7 separate regions of the Homo sapiens genome follow, and regions 1, 2, 3, 4, 6 and 7 are each linked to region 5. The links are contacts of gene promoters, found by promoter capture Hi-C in blood cells and fetal thymus (Javierre and others, 2016). All regions are on one chromosome and are shown on one strand. Each heading gives the region's core, a stretch centred on a gene start or on the middle of the fragment in contact. The rest is flanking DNA. Distances are from core to core; before and after follow the strand shown.

Evidence for each region. Contacts are between HindIII fragments. The CHiCAGO score rates a contact against its expected background, and 5 or more counts as called.
Region 1: a contact is called between a fragment that was not itself captured here and the fragment with the promoter of PAPSS1 in region 5, in 8 of 17 cell types (non-activated CD4 T cells, naive CD8 T cells, activated CD4 T cells and 5 more). The highest score is 16.2, in non-activated CD4 T cells.
Region 2: a fragment that was not itself captured here is called in contact with the fragment with the promoter of PAPSS1 in region 5 in 2 of 17 cell types (total B cells and naive CD8 T cells); the score reaches 7.0 in total B cells.
Region 3: a contact is called between the fragment with the promoter of TET2 here and the fragment with the promoter of PAPSS1 in region 5, in 3 of 17 cell types (total CD4 T cells, naive CD4 T cells and total CD8 T cells). The highest score is 6.1, in total CD4 T cells.
Region 4: a fragment that was not itself captured here is called in contact with the fragment with the promoter of PAPSS1 in region 5 in 6 of 17 cell types (naive CD4 T cells, naive CD8 T cells, non-activated CD4 T cells and 3 more); the score reaches 7.2 in naive CD4 T cells.
Region 6: a fragment that was not itself captured here is called in contact with the fragment with the promoter of PAPSS1 in region 5 in 2 of 17 cell types (non-activated CD4 T cells and naive CD8 T cells); the score reaches 6.9 in non-activated CD4 T cells.
Region 7: a fragment that was not itself captured here is called in contact with the fragment with the promoter of PAPSS1 in region 5 in 1 of 17 cell types (total B cells); the score reaches 5.9 in total B cells.

Annotation. Positions count from the first base shown.
Region 1 is chr4:109,730,716-109,733,516 of GRCh38, reverse strand. It overlaps a transcript of CFI not described here. Among named protein-coding and RNA genes, the nearest start is that of PLA2G12A, 2.0 kb to the right of the region's middle. RefSeq lists an enhancer at 2,453-2,801. The HindIII fragment of the contact is 3,342 bases long and covers 1-2,801 here.
Region 2 is chr4:105,702,781-105,705,688 of GRCh38, reverse strand. INTS12 (integrator complex subunit 12) reads left to right here. Exons shown (of 8, transcript NM_020395.4): 2 at 1,880-2,041. LOC124900748 (a long non-coding RNA gene) reads right to left here. Exons shown (of 3, transcript XR_007058215.1): 2 at 299-375. Among named protein-coding and RNA genes, the nearest start is that of INTS12, 4.5 kb to the left of the region's middle. The HindIII fragment of the contact is 1,625 bases long and covers 756-2,380 here.
Region 3 is chr4:105,145,440-105,148,180 of GRCh38, reverse strand. It overlaps TET2 (tet methylcytosine dioxygenase 2), which reads right to left and starts at 1,305. Exons shown (of 11, transcript NM_001127208.3): 1 at 1,202-1,305. LOC124900868 reads left to right here. Exons shown (of 3, transcript XM_047416559.1): 2 at 1,220-2,686. The coding sequence ends at 1,908. RefSeq lists silencers at 331-400, 1,364-2,043 and enhancers at 731-780, 1,124-1,293. The HindIII fragment of the contact is 4,110 bases long and covers 1,077-2,741 here.
Region 4 is chr4:110,192,964-110,195,840 of GRCh38, reverse strand. All of the region lies in intron 1 of ELOVL6 (ELOVL fatty acid elongase 6), which reads left to right. Among named protein-coding and RNA genes, the nearest start is that of ELOVL6, 4.2 kb to the left of the region's middle. The HindIII fragment of the contact is 1,138 bases long and covers 879-2,016 here.
Region 5 is chr4:107,718,829-107,721,612 of GRCh38, reverse strand. It overlaps PAPSS1 (3'-phosphoadenosine 5'-phosphosulfate synthase 1), which reads left to right and starts at 1,379. Exons shown (of 12, transcript NM_005443.5): 1 at 1,379-1,493. The coding sequence starts at 1,434. RefSeq lists enhancers at 1-76, 2,067-2,126 and a silencer at 1,187-1,436. The HindIII fragment of the contact is 5,198 bases long and covers 1-2,784 here.
Region 6 is chr4:109,825,512-109,828,211 of GRCh38, reverse strand. RRH (retinal pigment epithelium-derived rhodopsin homolog) reads right to left here and starts at 240. Exons shown (of 7, transcript NM_006583.5): 1 at 79-240. The coding sequence starts at 184. The HindIII fragment of the contact is 1,891 bases long and covers 391-2,281 here.
Region 7 is chr4:105,476,146-105,478,845 of GRCh38, reverse strand. No RefSeq gene overlaps it. Among named protein-coding and RNA genes, the nearest start is that of PPA2, 3.4 kb to the right of the region's middle. The HindIII fragment of the contact is 4,302 bases long and covers 1-2,700 here.

The DNA.
Region 1 (2,801 bases), core at 141-2,640, 2.0 Mb before region 5:
TCATAACTGACTTCCTATCTTCAGCTTCTGCCCACCACAAAGTATATATAGACAAGCTAGCCACTCTCTAGCAGGAAAGACCTGGAACACAGCTGTGGATTTGCAACTAATGATGTCTGTCATGAAAATAACAGGTTTTGCTGGTTAGATGAAAGTGTCCTGTAAAGAAGGCTCTTTTCAAACAGTTTATGCCAAAATTTGGGAAGAAAAGATGGAAGTGGGTCATCTAGAAGTTACGTGAGATGAGCTGGGCACAGTGGCTCATGTTGTAATCCCAGCACTTTGGGAGGCCAAGGCAGGGGAATGACTTGAGGTCAGGAGTTCGAGACCAGCCTGGCCAACTTGGTGAAACCCCATTGCTACTAAAAATACAAAAAATTAGTCAGGTGTGGTGGCGGGCACCTGTAATCCCAGCTACTCGGGAGGCTGAGGCAGGAAAATAGCTTGAACCTGGGAGGCGGAGGTTGCAGTGAGCTGAGATTGTGCCACTGTACTCCAGCCTGGGCAACAGAGCCAGACTCAAAAAAAAAAAATTTATATGATATGGTAAATCAGAGCATGCATCCTGTGTAGTGGCACAAGGCCCCACAGTCAAAAGGGCTCTGTACTTATTTTAATGCTCTGCTGTTATCACCTTGAAATTCTTTTTTTTTTTTTTTTGAGACAGAGTCTTGCTCTGTGGCCTCGGCTGGAGTGCAGTGGCACGATCTTGGCTCATTGCAAGCTCTGCCTCCCGGGTTCACGCCATTCACCTGCCTCAGCCTCCCGAGTAGCTGGGACTACAGGTGCCCGCCACCATGCCCAGCTAACTTTTTGTATTTTTAGTAGAGACAGGGTTTCACCGTGTTAGCCAGGATGGTCTCGATCTCCTGACCTCGTGATCTGCCCATCTCAGCCTCCCAAAGTGCTGGGATTACAGGCGTGAGCCACCGCACCCGGCCATCACCTTGAAATTCTTAATTTTTGAGCAAGGGGCTCTGTATTTTTATTTTGCACTGAGCCCTACAAATTATACAGATAGTCTGTGGTCAGTGCAGATCCCTGGTATTTAACAGCATCAATTAAGAGGAAAACGTAAACCTTGTAATTACTGCAGCAGAACAACAAATATATAATGATTAAATGTGAAAAGAATGTGAAAATAAAACTTAGAGTCTTGTTTTCTACAAAAATGGTGGTGATTCTCATGGGGAAGACAGTGGAAAGATTTGCTTGAGAGAAAGAGAACAGCTGCATCAAGCCAGAAGAACTGGCATTTGAGAATTTAATCCCTAAGGAGAGATCAGACAAAGAAAACTACGTCTGATTCCTCAGAGTATAGGCTGTAGTTAAGGTGTAAGAAATTAGATGAGATCACAAAGAAGTAAATAAATAGAGAAAGTGGGGGAAAGGAGAGGCTTTGGGTCATAACTGAGGGCTGGAACTAGGTTATTTTATTACATTCTATCCTTTCTTTTGAAAGTCTTGTCCCTGGACTAGGGAGTTGTAAGAACCAAGCCTGGTTTAAGGATTCAGGTGGTGGTATCTCAGAGGTAATCTAGTCCAACTTTCATACTTTGGAGCTGAGAAACCAATGTTCCAGAAAGCTAAGACAATGATTCTAAGTTCCCTTTTTAAAATGTATTGAAATGTGTTGTCTAAAAATTAAAAAATAAAAATATCTGTGGTATTTTGTGAAGACAGAGGCCTTGGTTTGGAGTAGATACTGTCACATGACTTCTCACCTCGACTCTTTTATTGTAAAAGAGGAAGATAATAATACCTTCCAGGGAACATTCTTCCCCCTTCTCCATTGTGGTAGGAATTAATCACTGCCCAAGACTCCTGGTTGAGGGGCTGAGTGAAGTGCAGGCAGTCTCCAGCCAGGAGCTACACCGTTTGTTGGGCTACCCTGTTTGTAGGGAGGAATGCCTTTCTATGTTTCTAACTTGCCCAAAGTCTGCATCCTTGTAAAGTAGTGTTCTGAATGTGAGCGATCATATTCATGAAGTGCCTGGCACATAGTAAGCACTCAATAAAGAGGGATGTAATTTTTATGAACTGTGCACTGAACGTTTATTATAAGCTCATTTAGTTTGTAACAAACACAAAAGGCCAAACCTAGAACTTATTGGTAATTCTTATAGAAAGGACACACCTATGCCCAATACTTACTCACTTTCTTTTTTTTTTAGAGTCTCGCTCTGTGCCCCAAGCTGGAGTGCAGTGGTGCAATCTCAGCTCACTGCAACATCCATCCACCTCCTGGGTTCAAGTGATTCTCCTGCCTCCGCCTCCCGAGTAGCTGGGATTACAGGTGCCCGCCACCACGCCCAGCTAATTTTCTGTATTTTTGGTAGAGATGGGGTTTCACCATGTCAGCCAGGCTGGTCTCGAACTTCTGACCTCAGGAGTTCCAGGCCTCCCAAGGTGCTGGGATTACAGGCGTAAACCACCGCGCTTGGTCTGCCCAATACTTTCAACATTGCTCTGGATCTTACTGTAAAATTCTTGGAAACTGCTGTGATACTAAGATAACCAGATATTTACAACTGATACAAAGTACTACTGCAATAGTTATTTATGGATCCCGCACAATGCTGGGGGCAGGGTGGTAGGTACAGAGAAACAAACGTCACTGTAACTATCAAGTTACAAAATCCCTTGAGTAGAAAAACAATGACTTCCTTAAGATTTATTTTACTTTTTACTGTATTTAAGTTTACACTACTGTTTCTTCCTTACCAGGGGAGAATTTTATGATTTTTATGTTGGCCCATTTTCTTTTTCCGGAAAGTCTAAACTAGCATTTAGCTCGTCCT
Region 2 (2,908 bases), core at 319-2,818, 2.0 Mb after region 5:
TAAGAAAGAGTATATTGGAGGACTTGAAATAAGTCAGATAGCTATAACAGAGAGAGTGAGAATGGCCTAAGATACTAGGTAACATTTAATGAGTGTCAACTATGTGTCAGGTACTGTTGTAACTGCTTTATATGTATTATTAATCATGTAGAGCAATGGTCCACAACCTTTTTGGCACCAGGGACCAGTTTCATTGAAGACATGGTTTCAGGATGATTCAAGTGCATTACATTTATTGTGCACTTTATTTCTCTTATTACTACATGGTAATATATAATAAAATAATTGGACAACTCACCATAATGTAGAATCAGTGGGAACCTTGAGCTTGCTTTCCTGCAGCTAGACGGTTTCATCTGGGGATGATGGGGTATACTGTGACAGATCATCAGGCATTAGATTCTCATGAGGAGCACACAACGTAGATCACACACATGCACAGTTCACATAGGATTCGCATTCCTATGAGAATCTAATTCCACCAGTGATGTGACAGGAGGCAGAGCTCAGGTAGTAATGCAAGTGATGGGAGTGGCTGTAAATACAAATGAAGCTTCCCTCGCTTGCCTACTGCTCACCTCCTGCTGCATGGCCTGAAGGTTAGGGACCCCTGATGTAGAGAATTGGAGACCTTGTTAAGAATCTTATTCTTGAACCTTTGGATTGTGAGAAGTGATAAAAGGATTTTAAGCAAGTGAGTGATATGAAAAGGTTTAAAGGGATGACAAGAGTGATTGTGGGAGACTGATTAAGCTTTTGCAGTGGGCCAGATAATAGATGATGCTAGGTTGGTCTAGGGTGGTAGTAGTAAGGATTGAAAAGGGTGGATAGATTTGAGGTATGTTTAAGAGGTTTGGTTATTGAATTGGGGGTGGGAATTAAGGAAGTGGGAAGAGTTAAAGCTGCTTCTGGGTTACTGGCTTGGGCAATAGGGTAAATATCATTTGAAAAAGGGATTACTAGAGGAAGAACTGGTTAGGAGAAAAGGGAATAGTGTATGAGTGGCTCTGTTGGAGACACGTTGCATAGGAGGCACCAATGATATATCCATGTCAAGCTGGCAGTTGGATCTTGGGAGAGACACATGGACTGCAGAGATGTATTAGTAATCACTGGCAAAAGACTATATAGATCAAATTGTCTAGGGCAATAATTCCCAAACTTTAGAGTAGATAGAATTGCCTGGAAGGCTTAACACAGATTTCTAGACCCTACTCCCAGAGTTTTTTCTTCAGTAGGCCTAGGAATGGAGACCAAGAGTTTGTATTTCTAAGTTCTGACGTGATACCTATGCTGCTGACTCAGAGAACACATTTTTGGAAGAAGATGTAGAACAAGTCAAGAAGAGACCCAGAACCTAGCACTGAGGAACTCATTTTTAATTGGATAGGAGGAACCTACAAAGATGACTGACAAAGAAGTAGGAGGGACAATCGTATGTATTAGGTTTACCTGACTGAGGCGGCGAATGACTCATGAGAGCATTTTCATGGAATAGTGGGACAAAGGCTGAATTGCAAGAATTGCTGTGTAAATAGAAGGAATGAAGAAAAAGAGTACAAAAGCATATGATTTCTGAGAACGTTTTGCTATAAAAGAGAAAAGATAGAAGATGTTTGAATATATTTAATGTCAATGAAAAGATGCCAGTAGAAAGGCTGAAAAAAAAAAAAAGAAGATATGGGAAATAATCCATAGGCCAAGGTTCAAGAGGGGACAAGAAGAGATAGGATCCAGATCCAGGTGACACTACATAGAGAGCTACCTTCTCCTTTTTTATCAGATGGGAAAGAGGAAAGGATGAGTGCAGGTAAGTTTGTAGATGTGCTGGAAGGAAGTCGACTTAATTCCTCTCTGACAGCCTCTCTTTGTGAAGTAGGTGAGGCCATCTACTGAAACACAGAAGCAATTTTAAAAGAAAATGGAGGAAGTATAACTGATCTTTGCAGAAAGTGGGGAAGTGAGTTGACCAGAGAAGGATGAGAGAATTGCCAAGTTGTACTGAACGCCAAGCTGAGAATGGTGATTCTGAAGATAGAATGTATGTATATTCCTCCCAGTTGCACTTAGAGTTTGGGTGCAGGCAGAGAGAGAATGGCTAGCAGGGTGGATGTCTATAAAGTAGGGAAACTACAGGGCTTTCGGGTGCCTAGAGTACTGAAAGAGGTATTGAAAGGGTGGACCACAGAATGTGAGCTGGATAGGAAGTAAACGGCATACTGCAATAAATCAAGGATAATAAGAGATACAGAAAAAAGATCATTGTTCAGTAATGGCGATTTTTGTGCTATATGCATTTGACACAGCTAATTCCCAGCATCACCTAAGAATTCACTCCTATCAATACTACTACTACCACTTCCCTAGGTCAGCGAAAGCTTTAAAGTGGTAAATATTAATTTTCTCACATTCTCCTTTTTGAAAGCAACATCTACTTTTTAAATGAAACCTACATTTAATATATTAAATATCTTTCATATATACATTTTTCTTTCATACACACACACAGGACTTTGTTTTCTAGAACTCTAATCCATAGTAAGAATGATATGGCTCTTTTGCAGTCTGTTTTGGCCATGGGTTTAGGAATGAATATACAGGAAAGGAATTGTATAGAAGTAACATGATTTGGTGTAACTCCAGGAAAATATTTTTGTATGTGTAGATCAACACAGTTACACCAAGTTGCTGACCTCTTTATGACTGCTGTAGAAAGTAAACTTCTTTCACTATATGGATATTTGCCGGTAAGGAAGGAAAAGTAACAGAGATTAGAGAAGGCAACAGAAAAGGGGGAGTAAAGGTAAGATAGAAAACTAAAATATAAAATATAAACCACATAACCATAAGTGTTTTATTTTAGGTTCAACTACTGTTTTCTGTTTGGTGAGGAAACAAAAGTCAGGGC
Region 3 (2,741 bases), core at 56-2,555, 2.6 Mb after region 5:
TTATGTCATAGGTAGAAAACTCTCCATACAAACCCTATTAGCTTAATAAAACTAGACAAGCAGTCCCAGTGAAAAGATTCAGCAAGATGCGAGTGAGGTGTGTGTGTGTGTGTGTGTGTGTATGTGTATGAGAGAGAGAGAAGAAAGAGTAGAGAGGAGACACAGAGAGAAAGGCAGAGAGATGAAAGACCAAAGAGAGAAGCCAAAGAGAAATTTGGATGGGACTGTTATAAATCTGCTCTTCACTTCTTTGCTGGGATTGGGTTTCATTTCTTTAGGCGCCCCTGACCTTGCAGTCTTGCAACTCCAACGCTGCGCTCCCCACCCCCTCCCGCCCCCTCCCCGGGCCTGCGCCTGCCTTTGTGTCTGCCTGTCACTTACCAAGGAACCAAACGAAGCTGATTCGGGAGAAGCACAAAGCCGGGACACAGATTTGTCCATAAATTCTCTTACATACATTCCCCAGGCTGGAAGGCTCAGCCCAGCGCTGACTTATGTACCTTGAGAAAAGTGAGTTCTGGTCTTGTTTGGGGAACCAGAGAAACTATTCTTTCCTCTTTCACTCAGCGCCGCTAACAAAACGCGCGGACTTAAGGAAAAAAAAAACCCACTCAGTGTACTCCAATTCCACTCCCTGTGACATTCACTTCGTACAGCCCCCTAAAGGGGGATAAGAAGGTAGGAGGAGGCAGACACAAACCCAGACCCAGACCCTACAGCTGATAAAAGGGTCGAAAAACACCCTATCAGTGTTCTCTCTGAGGTTGTTCAGGATAAACGGGAGACTCGTTTCACTTACACGAAAGAAACAGGGGAAGAGGATTAAAGGGAAAAGTAGTGCCCCCAAAGCTGAACTATTTTAGAAAGGAAAGCAAATTTAAAAATCACTTTTCTGAGGATTAAAAAAGGCCGGGAAACCGGCTCGTCGGAGGCACAAAGGTAAGTTTTCTGGGAGATGAGGGGACGAGCATTAGGAGGAGAGAAGAGAACACAGAACTACAGGTTTAAAAGGGGTAGAGGGAATTAAAACTATATTTGTCAGCCATGTTGAAGAGGCTCCAGTAATTTGTGAAGCTTCCCTCTTCCCTCTTGGTATTTGTGGGTGACACTACAGGGTTTGCTCCCCAGTCCCTGGAAGCCCGAGAAAAAGCGAAGGGGAGAAGAAAGGGAGAGTTTCGCGGCATAAGAGAAGCGCTCTGACCTCGTTCTCGTCCCTCAGCCTTGCAGCAATCCAGCAGTTGCAGTCGGGTCTCCTTTCTAACAAATCCTAAAGGGCAGCCATCTTGCTTCCTTCTGCTTCTCTACGAAAGCAGCCTAGCCTCCGCATCAATATTCATAAGGCAGTTTGACGTCTGTTCTCATCACTCAGCGGGGCCGGCGTCTCGGGGCGGCCGCGCCGAGGGGGCGGACGTGACTTGCATGCGAGCGGGACCCGGGCGCGCGGCGCTCGCGAGGAGGCGGCGGCGGCCGCCCAAGCTCTCGCCGCTGCCACTGCCGCTACCGCCGGCTCTCCTCCTCCGCCCGGGCCTCCTCCTGCTCCGCCCCGGCCTCCTCCCGCTCCGCCCCGGCCTGCGCCGCCGCCCTGGGGCCCTCAGCCCCGGCTCCCAGGGAATTAGCCCCCCGCACCGGGCGTCCAGCACAAAGGCCGGCGGCACCTGGGGCCGTACAGCGGGGCGCGCAGTGGAGACCTGGGCTGCCCTCACGCCGTGCAGTGGCGCGGGGGGAGTGGTGCGCCCGGACCAGCGCGGAGTAGGGGCCAGGGCTGGCGAGCGCGGGGAAGGGTGCAGCCCTCGGGAACCCCGGGGACCTCGGCGGGTCTCCACCCCTGGGAGAAGAAGCAGAGCAAGCGCGAAGGTTGGGGGCGAGGTGGGAGGTTGGGATGGCACGGGTGCCTGGACAAAGACGTGACATCTAAGATTTCCCTTTGAAACTTTTTGCTGGTCTGCACTCCACCACCACTTCGAGGTCCCGCGCACACGCCCCCGCGCGCACCCACCTCCTCCGGAGTGTACCCGCACGTGCCCTCGCTCTGGCCCCCGCCTCCACCCACTGGCACCTCTCCCCGCACCACACCTCCGCTTGCGCCCACCTTACCCTCAGAGGCCCGCGTCTCTATCTCCCTTTAGATCCCGTTGCCCGCGCTCTCCTTTCCCTTTTCTGTCGCTTTAATCTCATTCAGCAGAAGCGCTCCCCTGTTTCACCGAGGGCATGCCCTTAGTGCTTTAGGGGCCTGTATTTTTAAAGACCCGACAAACTGGGAAATTGACCGAGTTCTGTTTCTCCCCGCCCCGGCCCACCTTCTGTTTACTTTAGCCACGTGGGCTGAGTAGAAGGGGGCGTCTCACAGATTGAAATAGGTTTCTCACTAGTGACCCCCTACTTCTCGCTAGGAGGAAATAAACCTGCACTTTCAAATGCTTAAGTTGCCTCTCGTAAGAGCCCTTACTTTGAAGTAGTTTCCCCCCGTACAATTAAGTAATGAAGAAACCGACCGATACAGAGCTAATTCCGAATGACGGATGCTTGATTTTCCCTGACATTCGGAGCTCTGTAACTATGCTCTTCCTTTGACCGGAGTTTTTCTCTATTGCCGAGTAGTGTTACTTCCCCCTTCTAATGCTCCTTTTTCTAATCATCAACTTTTTATTTGAAGATGAGATGAAGAACAAAGCCCATATGAGTCATAGTAAGTATCATATTACGTCAGATAGTCGTTTTTGAAATATTCCCTTCATCTTTTA
Region 4 (2,877 bases), core at 198-2,697, 2.5 Mb before region 5:
TGCAAAGCACCTAGCAGAGTGCTTTGCATAAGGCACATTCTTGAGAAAATGTCCAGTGAGTTGAAATGGTGATTGGTGCCCATTTTATTGCCAGCACTACTCGTTAATACCCGAAGGTTAACAGGCTAGAACTTGCATACCGTGGCAGAGTCACATCTTGGGATTTTTCCCTTCCTGGCTTCTGCTCTCTGTTGATGTTATGTTCTTAGATTGCTTATTGCAGTCAAAGAACCCTGCTGGCTGTTACCCCTCCCTTGCAACTCTTCCTGACCCTAATTGTCTTACTTTCATGTTTTTTTTTAAATGCCAGATTTTGTGCATTTCTCCCAATATCCCAGGGTGCCCAATTTTATCTCTCCTCCCTCCCCAAAAACTGTACAGCCAAAAAGACTTTAAACACTTTTTAAAATTTAATTTTATTAGCCGGGTGTGGTGGCTCCTGCCTGTAATCCCAGCACTTTGGGAGGCTGAGGTGGGTGGATTACCTGACGACAGGAGTTCGAGACCAGCCAGGCCAATATGGTGAAACCCCATCTCTACTAAAAATACAAAAAAATTAGCCGAGCGTGGTGGCGGGTGCCTGTAATCCCAGCTACTCGGGAGGTTGAGGCAGGAGAATTGCTTGAACCCGGGAGGTTCAAATTAAAGCTTTTAGTTTTTATTTTTAATAGAATCCAGCTAATGCAGGACAAAAAGTCTTGAACCAGATTTTCTTTTCACTCCCTTTTTAATAGGAGAAGGGAACTCCATAACCAAGGCTTAGACCCTCTTGAGGAGAGAGGAACTTGAGGAAACCATAAAATCTTACCTTTTTCAGACTCATTAACTTAAAATGGTTTGAAATAGCTTCTGGAGGAAAAACATGATATAGTGAAGCTTCTACTCTGTCTTTTGGGAATTTATGGTTGTCCTTATAAATCTCTTCTTAGTAACAGGCAAAACTTGTTAATTTAGAGAATTAAAACATCCTCTCTCAAAAGTGAACTACATTGGCTTTTGAAGAACTGTGAGAATGGCCAGGAGTAGTATTTTGCCAGTATGCTGCCTTTGCTAACTAGCATCATTTAAGAGGACCTAAAATAAGAATACTTTATTAAACATACGCTATAATCCATACTTACTAACCATAGCGCAAATTAATGTTAACATACCCTATAATCCATACTTACTAACCATAGCACGTGTTAATGGAATGGGGCCCGACTTTTGGAGTAGCATTTGTATAAACCCTAAAGGGTTCAACTGAGGCTAGTTTTCAAGTTTATTGCTGCTTTAATGAATCATTAACCTCATACTCATTGGCCTAGCCATGAAAGTAAATACTGCAGACTTTTTTTACTTTGCTAGCAAAAAGTTTCATATATAATAGGTTAGAATAGCAATTGAAATGCAAAGTAATAAGTGTATTCCCTTGTAGAATCATCCTGGGCCTCATCTTGAAACTACATGTCCAGTGAAAAATATCCTGTCTGGTTATATTATCTGGTCAATGAGAGTTTATTACATGAGGTAGAGAAAAATGTCTGCTCATAGGTCCAAATAGGAGTTTTGAATTCTAATTTTCACTGAAAAGTCCTTGCAATTTTACAACATTGAAAATAGAGACATTTTGCTCTTTTATGAGATGTCTGGCCTTTACCTGTTTTTCTCACTAAGAGCTGACTTAAGTTGGAAGTGCTGCTAGCCAGGGAGCAAAATCACCTGGTGATTGCTAAGGCGACATATAATTCATTGAGTGAGAAGGGAAGCTGGGCTCTCTCTGCCTTCTCTTTCAGCAGCCTGCCAGGTTTGTGCTAACAGCAGTGGATGCTAGTTGCTCCAGTTGTAATTGTCTAGCCAATGATGATTATCTTCTGATGTCGGCTGACACGGTGCCCACCAATAGGAAAGCAGGAGGCCTGTGCTGACTGCTGTAACATTATGTATGTGAGGTGACGTCTTCAAAGGGCTTGCCTAGAACTTCATGAAACCCTCCCCCTCTCCTGGCATTCTCCACACATCCAGCCTTTCAAAGCTTTATATATTTTTCTGACTTTTCTCCCCACTCACTCCCTTGGTGGTGTAAAAGGGTTTACTTGTTTTAACATTTTGTATTCTGTATTATAGAGTCTATAAGATAGTATAGGAATTTTAAGAATTAAATGCTGTTCAGCTGAGGAAGCCTTTTTATTCACAAATTTGTTTTTACCAAAGGTAAAAATGGAGTGAAACATTTTATTTTATTTTGTTTTATTTTTGAGACAGGGTCTCACTCTGTTGCCCAGGCTGGAGTGCAGTGGCACAATCTTGGCTCACTGCAACCTCTGCCTCCGGGTTCCAGTGATTCTTATGTCTCAACCTCCCAAGCAGCTGGGATTACAGGTGCCTGCCATGACACCAAGCTAATTTTTGTATTTTTAGTAGAGATGGGAATTCACCGTGTTGGTCAGGTTGGTCTTGAACTCCTGACCTCAAGTAATCCGCCCACCTCGGCCTCCGAAAGTGCTGAGATAACAGGCTTGAGCCACTGCAACCGGCCGTGAAACATTTTAAAAGGAGTTGTACATCTATATCTTTTTTGTAGGTGAAGTTTGGAAAGTAACACGATGTACAATTTCATGATTAAAGAACATAAAAAGCACTAAAAACCTGTGTTAGCATTTAACTCAAATATAGCAGCATAAAAAATATAGCAGCATAATGTTAATGAAACTGTTCAAATGCAGACATAGTATTTGGCTGTTGTTTTTCATTTAGTGAGGATTGCTTTGAATTGCTTCCTGAAGTCTTCCTTGCAACCTTCTACATTCATTTGTAAGAAAAATGGCTGGAAAACAGTGCATCTGTGACTATGGAACAGAGTAGGCCAGAGTTTCATTTCATCATTAACATTGCAGC
Region 5 (2,784 bases), core at 130-2,629:
GGAGGGCGGCTGTGTCACAGGGGGGCAGAGCTGCAAGCAACTCTTTTGGTGCCAGGGGCAAGCTGCGGAAAAGAGAACTCAGAGTTATGGGGGGTGTGGGGAAGATAACTCCTGGAGGAAACTCTGTCATGCCCCCAGCCCATCCTCCTACGAACTAGCCCTGGAATAATTAGGTGAATTTGAAAATGTCCTCCGTAGGCGGGAGTTCTATTCGGGGTTACCTGCGGCCTCCCCGGTCCTGGATTTCAGTCCTCTAGGTATTTCCTGAGTAGCTCTTAATAATACAGAAGCCCCTTTCCGGTGTAGGTCGGTAAGAAGCACTGCACAGAAATCTGATGCGAAGTGGGGTCTCCTAGCGGAGAGGGAGGCACCTTATAAGTAATCACTAATCCAGGTTGAGATATTAATTATTGATGTCAAGAAATCGGGCTTTTATTATATCTTTTTAAAAACTGTGTCTTGAGGCCAGGCGCTGTCGCTCACGCCTGGAATCCCAGCACTTTGGGAAGCTGAGGCGGGCGGATCATGAGGTCAGGAATTCGAGACCAGCCTGGCCAACATAGTGAAACCCCGTCTCTACTAAAAATACAAAAATTAGCCGGGCGTGGTGGCACACGCCTGTAGTCCCAGCTACTCGGGAGGCTGAGGCAGGAGAATCGCTTGAACCCGGGAGGCAGAGGTTGCGGTGAGCCGAGATCCTACTACTGCACTCCAGCCTGGGCGACAGAGCAAGACTCCGTCTCAAAAAAAGAAAAAAAATTGTGTCTTGAGTAGAATTTTAATGTGGAGAATGAGCTGTTCGGTAAATCAATTCTTCCCTTTGCAAAGCTGTAAAACATTTAAAACATTTGGCCAGGGTGACATGGGCACAGAAGGGGCAGACAGGAGGTCGGCAGCCAGGTCTGTGGAGGAGTAGCCACAGGTGCAAGAGGCCGCGTCAGCGTCCTCCCAATCAGCCTCTGCTGAGGGAGTGCCGCGCGCGGCGAGCCGCGCACTCCCCTTGCCTTTCTCCCGGCGGCTGGTACTCGCTCTTAGAGATCTGCGTTAGCTCAGAGCTAGGCTCGGTGCCGCAGAGGCACCTGAGGTTCCACGACTGCATTCCAGGCCCCGCCCCTTCATCGGGATCTGGAAGGAGGAGCGCCGTGCGCGCCCGCGCCGGCGCGAGCGCTGAAGCTCCGCCCCCAGCTTCTACCTCCGGTTCTATCCCGGCGTTTCGCCCTTCCCCACAGACCTCTGCCCCGGACCCATTTCCGAGGCGCGCCGCATGCGCCGCGCAACCCAGGCCACGAGCACGGGCGCGTGCTTAAGTCAGCGCGCGCCCGCTCCGACGCGAGGAGGCCCCGCCCTCCAGCCCCGCCCCGCTCGCTGGCCTGCCCTCCTCTTGCTACCCTCCCGGCGCAGAGAACCCCGGCTGCTCAGCGCGCTCCGCGGTCATGGAGATCCCCGGGAGCCTGTGCAAGAAAGTCAAACTGAGCAATAACGCGCAGAACTGGGTAAGCTGGGGACGAAGGCGAGACGGCGAGGAGCGGAGGGGCTGTGGGAGCAGCTCGTTCCGGAGCCGCCGCCTCTCTCCCGCCTCCTCCGCATCCATCCTTCCAGGAGCGCGGAGGTGGGTTCCGGGGCTGCGGCGCCTCCCGGCTGGGGCCGTGGGTGGTTGCGAGGCAGAGGGGCGCGGCGCAGGGTGGGGATCTCGCCCTAGCTTGGCGCAGCGTGCGGTCCGAGCCACCGTTCGTGGGAAGAACGCCCCCCCTCCCCAGCGCCTCCGCTCAGGTAAGACCCCCAGGAAAATCCTTCACCCGTGAACTGGCGCTTGCTGAAACCTCCGGGTGCTGAAACCTGCGGCTGCAGAAACAGGAGCTTCCTGCATACCTTGGAGTGGCCTGAAGATGTGCAGAGAAGGCGGAGGCGGGCGCCTTCGACGCGTTCTTGGTTTTTCTTGGCTCTGCCAGTGCGGTTGGCCCAGGTTTGGGTCCATCTCCGTGTCTTTCCATTTCTGAGTTTCAGTGTGAAAGGAGAGTACCCAACAATGTGGTCATTCATGAGTTGAGACTGCCCTGAACTGAGGTTCTTTGTGTCTCTGTGTTAAATCGGAATGTTTAACAAGTAGGAGTTTGGAAGACTCCATTCCTGGTGACAGTCAGGTATGGGACCAGTCCTTTATAACGTTTAGTAATGACTGCCAGTTGACTTTGTAAAGTGCTGTGTCCTCATAACGTTGCTTACTTCCTTAATTTCTCTGTGATGAGAAAGAGCCTTATCTTCCTTTGTAAGTGTGCAGCAGGGAAGGGCCCATCTTTGGAGTCTGGAAAGGCACTGGTTTAAGTTTAGACGGAAACGTTATTTCACAGTCCAATGGAATAATAAGGTTTAAATGCAATGTCTCCCAAAACGTTACTTGCCCTAGATGAATCAAAGAAAAAAAAAACAAGCAATTTCAGGCAAATGTTCTTTGGAAGTCATTAATTTACCACATCTGTTGTTATTGTTATCATGAGTTGTTTACTGATTCCTCTCTCCTTTTATTTAACTCTATAGATGGTAAGGAGGGGAAGGAGATTTAAAAGATGAATTAGAACAGTGGAAAGAGCGCTGGACTCCTGGCCTGGTCTCTCATCCCAGCTTTGCCATTTACTAGCTGTGTGATCTTGAGGAGAGTCACTTTACTTTTTCGAACCTCAGTTGACTTAAGGGTATAATAGTATGTACTTCACGGGATTGTTTTGATGAACAAAGAAGACAGATCATGAATTTGAATGTGCGGTGAAACCACTGCCTTGAAACTCA
Region 6 (2,700 bases), core at 87-2,586, 2.1 Mb before region 5:
CAATGCATGCCTTATGCTGAAAACTTCTGCCTTTCTTCACCCATTCTAAAGAAAAATAACTTACTTAAATATCCATACCTGCCATAATCAAGTAAGTTGCAACAATATTGTGTTCAGTCTGTGAAAAGACCGAGCCATCTTCATTTTTAGAGTCTGAACTGTTGCCTAAATTATTTCTTAGCATTTTGGAGGGAAGATACCGAAACACCCTTCATAATAAGCCTTCGATAATTATGAACTGCTTTATGAGCTACTGAGGAAAGATTTTTTAGGACCAATCATTTCCACTTAGAGACCTCAAAGAAGGGCCTTTTCATAGAGGCCCTCCCTTAACAAATTTAATTGGGCTAAAGAGGAAAGGACTTTAATTCCCAGAATAAGGGAAAAGCTTATTAGCAAAACAAAAAGAAATACCAAGCACCACACATTTTAACCTATTTGGGCATCAGTCTTCTATCTAAGGAGATTATCAAGCACACACATCCCATTTAACAATAAACAAACTCAGGAAATCAGTATAGGAGCCAGCCTTAGTCCTCTAAAACTATTCGGATTAAGGTCCCTGTTTTCTGTTGACCATTCAAGTCTTTCCATTTCGGCTCCTTTTGTTGTTTTTTTTTTCTTAACAATTTAAATATTAGTGACAAAGAAGTAGTCTCCTTCCTACTTCCAAATCTCACTCTCCTAAAGGTACCAGTATTGTTTGGTGCATATCCTTTCTTAGGCTTTTCTCTGCTTATACACATATTCATACAAGTGTTTCAGGTTTCCTCCACTTTCTTCTTGTAAATAAAAATGAGGGAAAAAAATAAGTACAAATGTATATATATAATGCAACTTGTTTTCCCATAAGGCTGTATTATAATATCCAAGTTAATAAACCCAGAATCTAATAAAGTCTAATTTATTAGTAGCTATGTATTTCATAGCATGGATATAATATGATCAACTCCACCATCCGTTAATTTCCCCTATAGTTTGATATGCACATGAGTAATTAATATTATCTGATGATAGTAATCATTGTATACTTTGCCAGAGTATCTGAATTCAATCACTGATATTGTAAAGTACAGAATAAAAATATTCTGGATTATCACATTACAACCTGAAAACCAACCTGAGCATGTTTTGTTAGAATAATAAGGTATCCCTATTACCTTTTTTCCCATATTCTTTATGCCATTAACATTATTAAAATCTGATTCTCCTCAGTTTCCTAAAATCAGTAAACATTAGAGAAATGCTTAGATGCACCAAAGTTAACAGTGTAAGCATAAAACAGAACCACTAGAGGGCTATATTTACCCACTTAGTTTAATTTTATAAAAATCCTAGAATGGCACAGCAGAAACCTAAGATAATCCTTTTGCTTCAGTTCTCTTGCCTGTGTATAAACTCAAGATGAACAGGTTGATTTATCTGTCCCAAATCTTATAGCTACCAGTACTCACATTTTTATAAATGTAATATTGTTATACCTATACTAGAAAAGCGAATCTCGTCAGTATTGTTTTCAAATGACCCTAGAGCAAAAAACATAATACCCAAGAGGAAATCACTCCCTTTAAAAAGTCTTTGTCTTTTCTTTCATTCAATATGCAAAACAAAACTTAAAATTTTTGAATTTGCTTTGGGTCATACTACCTTCCTTTTCTGTAATAAGTTATACCTAGTTGTAGCATCCATGAAAAATTTTCCAGAAATAATTATTTCTAAGAACTGAAAAATATATAATTTCAGATAGTCAGCTTTCTGCTGCAGATGAAAGTTTTGATATGAGTGAGGTAGGTGCATTTGAAGTTCTTTTTTATGCTTCCTTCATGGGTGATACAGAAAAGCTATATTGGGATAAGGCTTAGAAATACATGTGAATTTGATTCAAAATGAAATGCCTCAAAAAAACCCAGAAACTAGGCCAGGCGCAGTGGCTCACACCTGTAATCCCAGCACTTTGGGAGGCCAAAGCAGGCGGATCACCTGAGGTCAGGAATTCGAGACCAGCCTGACCAACATGGAGAAACCCCATCTCTACTAAAAATACAAAATTAGCCGGGCATGGTGGCGCATGCCTGTAATCCCAGCTACTTGGGAGGCTGAGGCAGGAGAATCGCTTGAACCCGGGAGGTAGAGGTTGCAGTGAGCCGACATTGCACCATTGCACTCCAGCCTGGGCAACAAGAACAAAACTCCGTCTCAAAAAATAATAATAATAAATAAACAAATAAATAAACCCAGAAACTATAAGGAAAAAAAAGGAAAAGATGTGGAAATAAAAGCTTAAAGATGGACAATGAAAAAAAGATATACATAAGCTAAACGGTAAAATTTCCAACTGGTTTGTCTACTGATCTATATGTTATTTCCATTATTGCCATTTTAGATTTATTTTTAATGTTAAAAAAACAAACTGTAGAAATGTTGCGCTATTATTATTTGTCCTTGGGACAATGCCATCACCCTTTGGTGCTTACTAACATCTTTTCCAAACCACGAGCAAAAGCCCTGGCCCTAACACTCCATGAAAATTTCATCACCACAATTCCAAATCAAATAATCTCCTGTCCTAAGCTGTAAAAGCATAACTGCCTATTCCTGTAAAAACTGTAATTTTCAACACATTTGCTCATCATATATATTAATGGCCTATGTATTTATTCATCCTGCTGCAATTCCATCAATCAGAAAAAGATAAAACCC
Region 7 (2,700 bases), core at 65-2,564, 2.2 Mb after region 5:
GGGTTCCATCTATCCATCCCTCACTCTTCTCTAACCCCTGGAAACCACTGAGGCTTCTACAGTCTCCACACTTAAACCTTTTCCAGAATGTCATACAGCTGGAATCATACAGTATGTAGCCTTTTAGATTTGTTTTCTTCACTTAGTAATATAAATTTAAGGTTTATTCATGTCTTTTCATGGCTTAATAGCTCACTTCTTTTTAGTGCTGAATAATATTTCATTGTCTGAATGTACCATAGTTTATCCATTCACCTAATGAAGGACATCCTGGTTGCACCAAATTTTGGCAGTCACAAATTAAAACTGTGTGTGTGTGTGTGTGTGTGTGTGTGTGTGTGTGAGATGGGGATTTGTGTACAGATTATTTCATCACCCAGGAAATAGTGCCTGATAGGTAGTTTATGGGTTTCACCTTCCCATCCACTCTCCACTCTCAAAGAGGCGCTGATGTCTGTTATTCCCTTCTTTATGTCCATGTGTACTCAATGTTTAGCTCTCACTTATGAGGACATGCAGTATTTGTTTTTGTTGTTGTTATTGTTCCTGCATTAATTGATTTAGGATAATGGTTTCCATCTGTGTTGCTGCAAAGGACATGATTTCCTTCTTTTTATGGCTGCACAGTATTCCATGGTGTAGCTGTACTACATTTTGTTTGTCCAGTCCACTGCTGATGGCTTTTCGCCTATTTTTTAAATTGGTTAGTTTTCTTTTTCTTGAGTTTCAACAGTTCTTTGTATATTTTGATAATAGTCCTTTATCAGACACATATTTTGCAAATATTTTCTTTCAGTCTATGACATGTTTTCTCATCTTGAAGCATCATTGTTTTAGTAAGAAAAATAAATTAACTACAGCAATAAAAATACACACACACATACACACCTATACACATTTTAAGGCCTAAAGTTAGTCAAGCTCTTATAGTTTCATTGAATTGTGAAAATAATTTTATCAATAGATAATTGCCAGTATTTAAATGAGAAATGGTATAGAACTGTGACATGTATTTATTAGAAAAAAATGTGGTTGATGAATATCGGATGAACATGAACTTTAGGTAACATTCTGAAATATTGTGGAAATCTTGTAATTTGACAAATATTTTAAATGTTTGGTAATGTGAAAATTATTTTTAAAGTCTCCCTTGTGGTTAAAGTCTTCCAAAGGCTAGTGAAATATCAGTCTGTGTGTCTCTGAACTGATTAATTAGAAAATATTCAAAATTGTTTTAAAATTCTCATTACTTCTATTGCATACTGCTCTATTTCTTTCCCCCCACAAGCTAGCTATTGTGAGCAAAGATGAGCAATTAGCAAATTTCTTAATTTGCTTATTTATCATGTTGTAGGTAATAATAATAATTCGTTTTAGGGACATTTACTGCTTTTATAAAAGTAAACACATAAATGAGTACTCCACAATTTCAAAATTATTTTATTTTCTATTAGGATAATCTAGCATTGCAAAAAACAATAACCATAATCATGGTAGATTTTGTGTTATGCTTACCAATACTAAAAACAGAAACAGAACTGGAATTCACTAATTATATAATTTTTCTCTAGTTCCAACTATTATCTTTACTGCAGTTTCACAGTTGTGGTAGTCACTGTGATGTGCCATGGCTTAATGAACTTTTGCTGAACTGTTGGGAGTACAGGTAACAAATAGCATTTATCTGTCAGCTTCTTCAGGGATGGCCATAGCTGCCTTGTCCAAATCATGTCCTTTCCCAGGTCAGCTTATATCCATCCAATCATTGAGGTTATAAAGGCCCGTCAAATTGTGCTCTCCATTGGACAACTGTAACTAGCCTTTTAAACTCCAGGGTATTCTATGAGGTGGGCTGAGGCTATTGGGCTTGCACCACAGCTCGACTTCTCTCTCAGCTCTTTTGCTTTCTTACCTTCATCTTCACATACTGATCCCAAGTGTACAGCCTAATAAACACTGCACACACATACTAAATTCAATCTCAGAGTCTGCTTCTCAGAGAATTCCAGTGGTGAAAATAGTTCCATCTCCAGCAGGAACTCTGCATTGTTTCAAACTTAACATGTCCCAGCTACGTTTATCATCTTAGTGTCAAAATTTCTCTCTCATTTTTATTAACATATATCTGAAAATAACACCACATATCTCTTGGTTATTTATTATGCATAATTTTTTTTAACTCTTCCATCCTCATTTCACAACTTCCAGTGAGATATCAAATTTGGTCATTTCTTCCAAATTCAACATTCCTTTCTATTTCTATTGCCAGAACTACTGTCTGGGTCCTTGTCACTTGGTACCTGAGATACTGTCAATACCTGGACACCGTATCTCTTATTTTCTATTCTGGTCCTTCCTACATATTAGTTATAGTTTTCCTGAGCCACCAGTTTCAATTCTCTGTTGATGAATCTCTGGTGGTTTGGTATTTCATAAACTCTGGAAATGTTATTTCATGATTTTATGTGTATTTGTCTTTATTCTCCAACTTGTAAACTCCTGGGACTAAGACTTTTACTTGCTATATGATGACAACAGGAGATGTCAATAATGGAAATCCAACGTGTTAGACTCCAAACGTCTAAATTTGAATAAGTACATAATTAAACATTATGTAATAAACATTACCCTCAGAGTATTTTTAAAAAGTTTTAAAAGCTAACCTGATACCTATTATTATTTCCTATCATTTATATTATG